Linked DNA regions of Homo sapiens: region 2 is linked to region 1. The links are contacts of gene promoters, found by promoter capture Hi-C in blood cells and fetal thymus (Javierre and others, 2016). All regions are on one chromosome and are shown on one strand. Each heading gives the region's core, a stretch centred on a gene start or on the middle of the fragment in contact. The rest is flanking DNA. Distances are from core to core; before and after follow the strand shown.

The links. The method cuts DNA at HindIII sites, captures the fragments that hold promoters and counts their contacts. A CHiCAGO score of 5 or more calls a contact.
Region 2: a contact is called between a fragment that was not itself captured here and the fragment with the promoter of JAG2 in region 1, in 1 of 17 cell types (endothelial precursors). The highest score is 5.0, in endothelial precursors.

What each region holds. Positions count from the first base shown.
Region 1 is chr14:105,166,607-105,171,139 of GRCh38, forward strand. It overlaps JAG2 (jagged canonical Notch ligand 2), which reads right to left and starts at 2,170. Exons shown (of 26, transcript NM_002226.5): 1 at 1,749-2,170; 2 at 1,151-1,501. The coding sequence starts at 1,814. RefSeq lists enhancers at 892-1,391, 4,040-4,533. The HindIII fragment of the contact is 17,945 bases long and covers 1-4,533 here.
Region 2 is chr14:105,128,628-105,133,160 of GRCh38, forward strand. No RefSeq gene overlaps it. Among named protein-coding and RNA genes, the nearest start is that of MIR6765, 20 kb to the right of the region's middle. The HindIII fragment of the contact is 3,206 bases long and covers 652-3,857 here.

The DNA of each region.
Region 1 (4,533 bases), core at 920-3,419:
TGAGGATGGGGGCAGCAGGCAAGGCTGCCAGCCAGGGCTGCAAAGGTACAGCACAGGACTGGGAGCCACACACGGCAGGCCCAACTGGCGTGAGCTCGGCAGGGATTGCCCTCAACTCACAATCACTTCAGGGCCCAGGATACCAGGTGGGCACACTCCGGTGCCTCCTGCTGACTGGAGCCACTTCCTGGCTCCCAGATCCATCTACTCCCTGATCACAGGTCTGCATGGTGCTCTCATTCCCGCACTCACCCAGTTCCAGGCCCCCAGCACAATGACCAAGCAGGGAAGGACCTCTGGGCACCAGGGCAAGGCCGTGCTCCAGGCAATGAGGTAAGGCGCCCGAGGCCTGGGCCTGCCCACCTACCACTACCCACCTGCCAGCCCACTGGGATGAGTACCTGTTTCCCAGTGACACTGGACCCCTACCACCCCTCCTCCCAGCACGCCCAGGCCAGGGCTCCTGCCTGACTGGCCACCTGCCAGGGGAGACCAGACAGCCCCGACTCAGCTTCTGCCCCTCCAGAATAACAAAACCAAAAAAACCCACAAACAGGGCAGTGCCACAGAAGGTCACTGCACCAGGATCCACTATCTCTGTCTCTGAACGATCTTGGGTCACCATCGGGGGCTTCTGCCGACATAAGCGTTAGGCGTTAGGCTCTCCCGGGCCTAGGTCCCACGGCGCCCGCCCGTGCCCCCCAGGCATCCAGGAAACTGCAGGGCAGGCGCAGGCTGGCCACGGGCCCGGGGCGGCTCAGTCAGGGCCTGCCCTAGACCAGCCCCAGCACGCGCTGCGCACATGCCACCGCGGCCTGCCCGGGACCGGGGCGCCTCGCCTCGCCTCCCCACCCAGACAGACACGCGCAGGGCGACGCAGGCACACGCCGCACACCGCCGCGCACGCGGGACGCCGCCGCCCCGCCCCCGCCGCGACCCCGCTCCCGGTGGCCCCGGGGCCCCGGCGCGCCCACGTGGCCAGGCGCGGACCAAGTCCCCAGAGCACGCGCCCCCTGCCGGCCCCGCCCCGCCTGGGCGCGCGCGGCTCGCACGCAGACCCGGCCGCAGGTGTTGGGGGTCGCGAAGCGCGCGGGGCCGGGGCGCGGAGAGAGAGGGAAGGGCTGGAGCACGAGGGATGGAGCGCACGTACCGGCCAGGCGAACTGGAAGGGGATGACGACGAGGCCCGGGTCCTGGTCGCCGCCGGCCCGGGCCCGCGCCCGCGCTCGGTCCCCCGCAGCGCCCGCCGGCGGCAGGTAGAAGGAGTTGCCGCCCAGCACGGGCGTGGCGCCGTGGCCGTAGCTGCAGGGCCCCGTGGGCGTCACCTTGGCCTGGTACTCCTTAAGGCACACGCGCACGTACGTGTCGCACTCGTCGTGGCCGCAGCCCCCCGCGCGCGTTGTCCGGCCGTCGCCGTCACAGCAGGCGCCGCTCAGCAGCTCCCCGTTCACGTTCCGCAGCGCGCTCAGCTGCAGCTCGAAATAGCCCATGGGCCGCGCCGCCTAAAAATAAGGCAGCGGGAGAGCGGAGGGAGGCGCGGGCCGGGGTCGGCGGGCCGGGCGCCAGGGGTGGGGGAACAGGCCCCGCCGCCCCGCCCCCACCCAGCCGCGCCCGCCCGGAGCCCCAGCCGCCGCGCGCAGCCTCGAGGGCTTCCGAACCACGGCGGCCCCAGGCAGTGCCCGCCCGGCCCCTAGGGGCGGCCCGGTGTGCCCCGTCCGCGACCCCCGCCGCCCCCGCCGCCCCGCTCACCTGCACCCAGAGCGCCAGCAGCAGCAGCAGCCGCCGGGGAAGGCGCCCCCGGCCCTGCGCCCGCATTGCCCCCGCGACCCGCCCGCCCGGCCCCGCCGCCGCCGCCCGCGCCCGGCTCCCAGCCGCCGCGCCGGCCTCCCAGCGCCCGCCCGCCCTCCGAGCGCCCGCAGAGGCAGCGGCAGCGGCAGAGGCGGCGGCGGCGGCGGCGCGGGCGGGGTCGAGCGCAGCGCCGCGGCGCGCGGGCCTGGGCGGCGGGCGTGCAGGGGCGGCGGCAGCTCCGGCTCGCTGGCGGCCGCGCTCCGGCTGCCCGGCCCGGCTCCCACCCGGCGGCGACGGCGGCGGCGGTGAAGGCAGCGGGTCCCGGCCTCGGCTCTGCGCGCCCGCGCTCCCGGCACCGCAGCCAACAAGTTCGGAACGAGACTGACAGCTCGCTCGCCCATTCGTCACCCGCGCACCTGCATATGCATGAGGGGGCGGGGCCGCGCCGCGGGGTGGGGCCGGGGGGGGGTCCGGGGGCGCCCCAGGCTTTAAAGGCGGTGGAGGGCGTCGCCTGCCAGCGCCCCGGCCCGGCGCGCGCCCCCCAGGGCGCCCGGGCGGCGGGGGCACGGGGCCTCGGGGTCAGCGCGGGCCGCGGGGGCCCCGCTCACACCTCCGCGTGAGTCGGCGAGGCGTGCGCCGGCGCCGCAAAGCTGCCTCCCCTCCTCCGCCTGGGCTCCTGCCGGGTGTCAGAAACCGGGGGTGGGGCGCCCCGAGGTTGCCGTGTGGTCCCCTCCCATCAGTGCGCCACCGCCGCGCTCCTCGCAGTCCCAGAGGAGATGCCGCCTCCTACTCTGATCAGGGCTCGGCCCCCACGCGGGGTGGCGCGGCCCTGGGGCCAGAGCCGGGCCCAGCCCCTACTGCGCGCCCCCCACCTCCTCCGAGAATCTCCCCTTCTCCGCGCCGCTCCTACCGCCTCCACGCCGGCTGCAGGGGGCGCTGCGCCCCTCCGACGCCCCTGCCTTCCCCTCTGCGAGGCGCGCTGGTCAAGCAGCCAGTCAACAAATGCTCCAGGGTGCAGACTGCTCAGCTCGGCGCTGGCGTCGAGGTAGCCAGGCCATGCCCTCAGGAAATGCTCAGGCCACATTCCCCGTTTCCCGCCTCTCGCCCCCCAAACTCAGGTCTGGGCTTGGGGGGCGAGAGGCGGGAAATGGGGAACAAAAGTCGGCAGTGCCTGTCCCTGAAGGCTACCCCGAGAGAGGCCTCCCACTGCTGCCCTGGTCACCAGGCTTCCACACCCCATCCTCTGCGGTCACCTCCTTGCCCTCTCCCTGGGTGACCTCGCAGCTCCTCCACAGGGTCAAAACCAATGGCACCTTCCTCTCCTCCAGTGAGCACGGTCCTTTCCAGAGCTAGGGGTCACCTTGGTGGTTAAAGATCCCCATATGGTCCAGAGGGGTCCTCAACCCATCCCCATGATAACTGAGCTGTCTTCTCTCCCCCTAGCTCCTCTCGCAAATTTGCCCTGTGCCCGGAGCTGGGTGGCTGTGCAGCCCCCCAGCCTGGAGCAAGTCACTGCCACCATGCTGCTGGGGCTGAGGGCTGAAGGAAGAGAGCTTTGGAGGCACAGGGCCTGTGAACACCCCATGCGCAGGGTCTGCCTGCTCCATCCCTGTTTAGCAGCTCCTCCAGGATCCAGGCCGCAGGCTCAGCTGAAGGTCCCTAAAGGGGTGGGTGGGAGCCCCCCATGCCCACCTCAGCTGGCTCTGCTCAGAGTGCCCACCCCAAACTTGGTGGTGGGTAGGCTTCGTGGGGATTAAGACACAAGCCAGGATGAGGCCCGCACAGAGACCCCCACCAAACAAGAGAATCCAAGCTGTGTTCAGAGCCTTCCAGTTGCCGCCTTCCGGTGTGTGGGCGGTGATTACCGCCTACGGGGGGAGGGGCTCCCTGTGGAGATGCCACCTCTCCTGTGCTTTGGCCTGGGGGCAGGTACTCGGGTACTCGAGAGAGGGAAGCCCCAGGACAGAGAAGCCCCCTGCCCGGCTCCAGAGGCCCAGGGCTCCATCCCCACCTGCGCCCACTGCCCCACTATGGTGGGGGAGGGGGTGCTGGGTGCCTCTGCTGGGCACTTGGCCAAGTGGTGAACAAGGGAGACTCCGCCCCTGCACACCCTCAGGAGCCCCCAGCCCGGGGGTGGACAGAGGACTTAGACAAGTCATACAGAAGCTGGCATAGGGGGCCGCCAGAGCGTGGACGGGCATGGGTCAGCCAGACCTCACGATGTCCATGAGAGCACCCAGGTCAGGAAGGTGGCCGCACCTGCCCTTAGGAAGGAGGGGGACATAGGAGGCATCGGAGAGGGGGTCCCTTCCCTGCAGGAATTTCAGCAGCCCTTGAGCCAGAAATGCCAGGCAGCTGGACCCTGGTTTGAGTTTCCAGAAGGCAGCAGTGGGAACCCTCGCCCCTCATACATATTTCACAAAACACATTTGCCCCCTGCTGCACCTTGCTGGGGTGAGGGGCTGAGATCAGTGGCGGCCAGGGCTCCAGCCCCAACCCTCACCAGACCAGGCTACCTGGTCTCTTCTAGTAAGGGACCTCGTCATTGTTCTGGGGCCCACTGGACCACAGCACCCTCCAGCCTCCCAGAGCCACCCGTCCCCCAGCCTGGAGGGCTCCCACTCTGAGCGCTGGGCGGTGCCCAGCTTGTATGCAGAGGGCAAGGGTGCAGCTGCTCAGCCTGGCCAGGGGCTCTGGGCCCATAGGGCAGTCCTGGGGACCAGGCTGAGGACGGGCTGCCAGGGGT
Region 2 (4,533 bases), core at 1,005-3,504, 38 kb before region 1:
GGGTTTCACCATACTGGCCAGGTTGATCTCAAACTCCTGACCTCAAGTGATCCACCTGCCTCGGCCTCCCAAAGTGCTGGGATTACAGGCATGAGCCACAGTGCTTGGCCTTAAAATTTTTTTTAAGTAGCTGGGCATGGTGGTGCATGCCTAGCTGCTTGGGAGTCTGAGGCAGGAGGATCACTTGAGCTCAGGAGTTTGAGGTTACACAGTGAGCTATGATCAGACAACCCTGGAGAATCGGCTCTGAGTCCCCTCATGGTCACCATGATTGTTGATTAAATTAAAAAAAATCAATCACTGCGCTCCAGCCTGGATGACAGTGCAAGACTCTGACTCTAAAAAAAAAAAAAAAAAAATTATTGCCTCTTCCTACACATAAGATGACCAACACCTGAAGGGGTTCGTGATGATGCCGCTGTCATCTATAAGCAGATGTACTCTACCACCAGACCTCGACGGGACTCTGCTTCAATGTCACTCCCGAGCATGTTTGATGTGCTCTTGTGCATATTAAGCCCCCACTCTGTACACAAGCAGTGAGCTGAAACACTGTGTTGGAGCAGCCTGACAGAGCTGCTCCCAGGCTATAGGCCTCAATCTGTAGTCCTCAGTAAGACTTCAGAATAAAACTAACTTTAGTTATTTGAAAGCTTGATTTTTTCTCCTTTAGTCAACAATCATGGTGACCATGAGGGAACTCCAAGCCAACTGCCCAGAGTTGTCCAAAACATCACCAGGACCCGGTGCCTTGGTACCAGCATGGGCCCTTTGAGTCCCTCTGGGTCCCCAGTGGTTAAAGACCACTGAGTGAGTCTCTCCTCACACATAGCTGGTGGTCTTGAGATTTATTTACACATAGTTGCTACGACTCCTTGATGAAGGGGGAAGTTCTTCCTTGCGACTTCTGTTTCTTGAGAAGGGGATTTCTCCTAGCTGAAACACTAGGAAGAAATGATCACGTGAGGTGTCTGATTGGCTAGGTTGTGCCCGTGCTCCCCCTTTCCGTTTGACTCTGTAAGTAAACCTCAGCAGGACAGAAGCTCTTAAAAATCTATGAGAGTTTGACCTGAGTCAACTCCAAAGACCGGGAATATTTGCTCCTTCCAGCTGGATTCTGATTTGGCAACCCTCGGTGATTAGAGGGCTCGTGGAGGTGTTGGAGGTGCAATCCTTGCAATGCACAGAGGTCCCATAGGAAATTCCTTGTCACAAGCAATTGACAATCGGCTCTTCTGAGGCCCCACAAGTTTTTAGATAACCAGAGGGAGAAAGAGAGACAATGATTTAACACTGAAATGACCAAAAATTGGATTTTCAAACATTAAGGCATGCCAGGTTTTCTGGGACTGCAGCCAGCTACATACTATTGCCCATTCTTGTCCACTTGTTTAAACTGATGGACAAATAACATCAAAGAAAATTCAGAGCTCAAGCAACCAATCTGCAGCTAGAGTTATTAACATGTAGAGTCTTCTAAGTTCTCTCTCTTTTTTTTTTCTTTTCTTTCTGAATACGTTGAATCTGCTGACTTTTCTTTTCTTTTTTTTTTTTTTTTTTTGAGACAGAGTCTCGCTCTGTTGCCCAGGCTGGAGTGCAGTGGCACAATCTCGGCTCACTGTAAGCTCCGCCTCCCAGGTTCACGCCGTTCTCCTGCCTCAGCCTCCCGAGTAGCTGGGACTATAGGCACCCGCCACCATGCCTGGCTAATATTTTCTATTTTTTTAGTAGAGACGGGATTTCACTGTGTTAGCCAGGTTGGTCTCGATCTCCTGACCTCGTGATCCGCCCACCTTGGCCTCCCAAAGTGCTGGAATTACAGGCGTGAGCCACCATGCCCAGCCTGAATCTACTGACTTTTCTAGTGCTTTCCAGATAAAACTCATTGTTTATGGTGTTACTAGTTCAAGACTACCTGGAGATTTTGTTTTTCTTACAGAATTCAGCCAGTTCTAACTAAAATGTAGACACTGAATTTTTAACCCTAAACTCATGTAAAACTAAAAAAAAAAAAATGTAAAAGGGGTGTTAAAAATCAAACTGCCATGGAAACTGCTTTACCCAAAATTTGGGTTCACAGCCTTCATTACATTACTCATTAAAGCAAATAAAGTTTAGCCACGTGAACATGTCCCAATTTTGTCAGAAATGTAACTTGGGGCCAGGCGTGGTGGCTCACACCTGTAATCCCAGCACTTTGGAAGGCCAAGGCGGGTAGATCACTTGAGGTAAGGAGTTCAAGACCAGCCTGACCAACCTAGTGAAACCCCATCCTCACTAAAGATACAAATATTAGCTGGGCGTGGTGGTGGGTACCTGTAATCCCAGCTACTCGGGAGGCTGAGGCACAAGATTCGCTTGAACCTGGGAGGTGGAGGTTGCAGTGAGCCAAGATTGTGCCACTGCACTCCAGCCTGGGCAAGAAGAGCGAGAGAGTCTGTCTCAAAAAAAAAAAAAAAAAAGTGTAACTTGGATCCAAACATCTTTTATAAACCAGTGAGTTTCTTATTAATGTCTCATGACTAAAATTCTAAAATGAAAGCTGTAAGACATTTGTGTGTGTGTATGTGTTTGATGTGTTTACAAATATGTACATTTATTATATGTTGTGTCTACGTAGTACCAAATGACTTATAAATAAATGAGTGCTCATAAATTAGTAAGCCCAAATATTTTTGAAGTTCATCTGACTTAAGTAAATCTCTAAGAAATAAGATGGGTTTGAAATTAGTGGTAAAATAAAAGATAGAAATGTCTTCGGAATTGTCAGCATATGTTTTTGCCTGGGTTGAGTGGTCAGACAGGTTTATATGAGCTAATAAATATTTAAGATGTCAGGGTTTAGCATGAAGGCTATAAAACTATAAACCCAGCCAGAAACAGAATGATCTTTATGTAATTTTTTATAAGAAAAATTATTTCATATTGTTGGTTTAATAAAAACAGCTAAATCTTCTGAGTTATCAGAAAAATAGCCATATATATTTAACTTTAATGTTCTTACTTAGGTGAACACCTAATATTCACAGGCTGTAAAAATGGTTAGCAGGAAAATAACTTATAAAATGATGATTCACTTTGTCTAATATCTCAGTTTTTATAATTAATCTAGCCAAAGACCTTATCTTGAGGGTCTAGAAAAGCAATTTACTAAATAAGTAAATGTCAATGGGATAAATGCCTATAAATAAACTTTTCATGTTTGAAATCTTAAATTAAATGTCTCCATTTCCAACTAAGAAAAATTATGTTACATGTTTCTAAAAATTATAATATAAGCTGTGCATGGTGGCTCATGCCTGAAATCTCAGTACTTTGGGAGGCTGAGGCGGGCAGATCACCTGAGGTCAGGAGTTCAAGACCAGCCTGGCTGACATGGCAAAACCCCATCACTACAAAAATACAAAAATTAGCTGGGCATGGTGGCATACACCTGTAGTCCCAGCTGTTTGGGAGGCTGAGGTGGGAGAATCACTTGAACCTGGGAGAAGGAGGTTGCAGTGAGCCGAGATCATGCCACTGCACTCCAGCCTGGGTGATAGAGCGAGACTCCATCTCAAAAATAAAATTATAATATGGTTCTCATCAATAAAATTCTAATATGTGACAGACAATTCAAGATTTCTGGCTTCCTAGGTTTTTACTAAATTTAAGTTTACTAAGAGTTAAAAATTCTAATTTATATATGATTCTGTATATAAATGTGCCTAAAATGTGTTTTTAATTTAAAAATTATTTAAAAGGCATAAAAATATGTTATTTATTAAGAAAAAATAATTTTTGTCTAATTTTCAGGTTTTTAAAAATATGAAACAAAATTAAAAGAAGCCAGCAAGTAGGAGGGAGAGATGTAAAGAAGCTTACGGATATGAAGTTATATTTTTGGTAAGAAAAGTTTAAAAAAGAGAGAGAGAATAATTTTGTATGAGAAAGAATCTTGTATGGTGAAGTTTTTGTCCTAAAGGAAAATGACTGATTATAGGACAAAGCAAAAAGTCCACACATAACTTAAATGGCCTGTGTAAATTGTGATAAGGTTCATGAAAAGAAAATTTTATAAAAGGAATTTTGTATGTGATTAAGTTAGCTATAATTTTGAATAATTATTTATAACAATCTTTCTAAGGTTTGAGTTTTGATATTAAAAATACACTACTACAAAACTAAAAATTGGTTCCCTGTATTAGAACAAAGTTTTCTTAAAGTCTTGATTTGCTCTTAGTAAAATTATAAGAGGTTTTGATTCTTATCTGTTTCTTTTCTTAAACTTCTCAAATTTACATATCAGAAGTTCAACTTTTGCCATGTGATCTGCAGCCATGTATCATTGCCTTCTGTTCCTTTTCCCTTGAAAAGGTGTATCTTTTTGTTTGGCTGGGATTATAACTCTCTCCTTCAATCTTTTCATCAACTCCTGTTCTAACTTTGCTATTGTGGTCTGATGCTTAAGTGCTTATCTTCACAGTTTAGAAAGCAATGTTTCCTCTAGTATAACTGGATTCTGTGCTGTTGGCTTTTCTTTTTGTTTCCTTT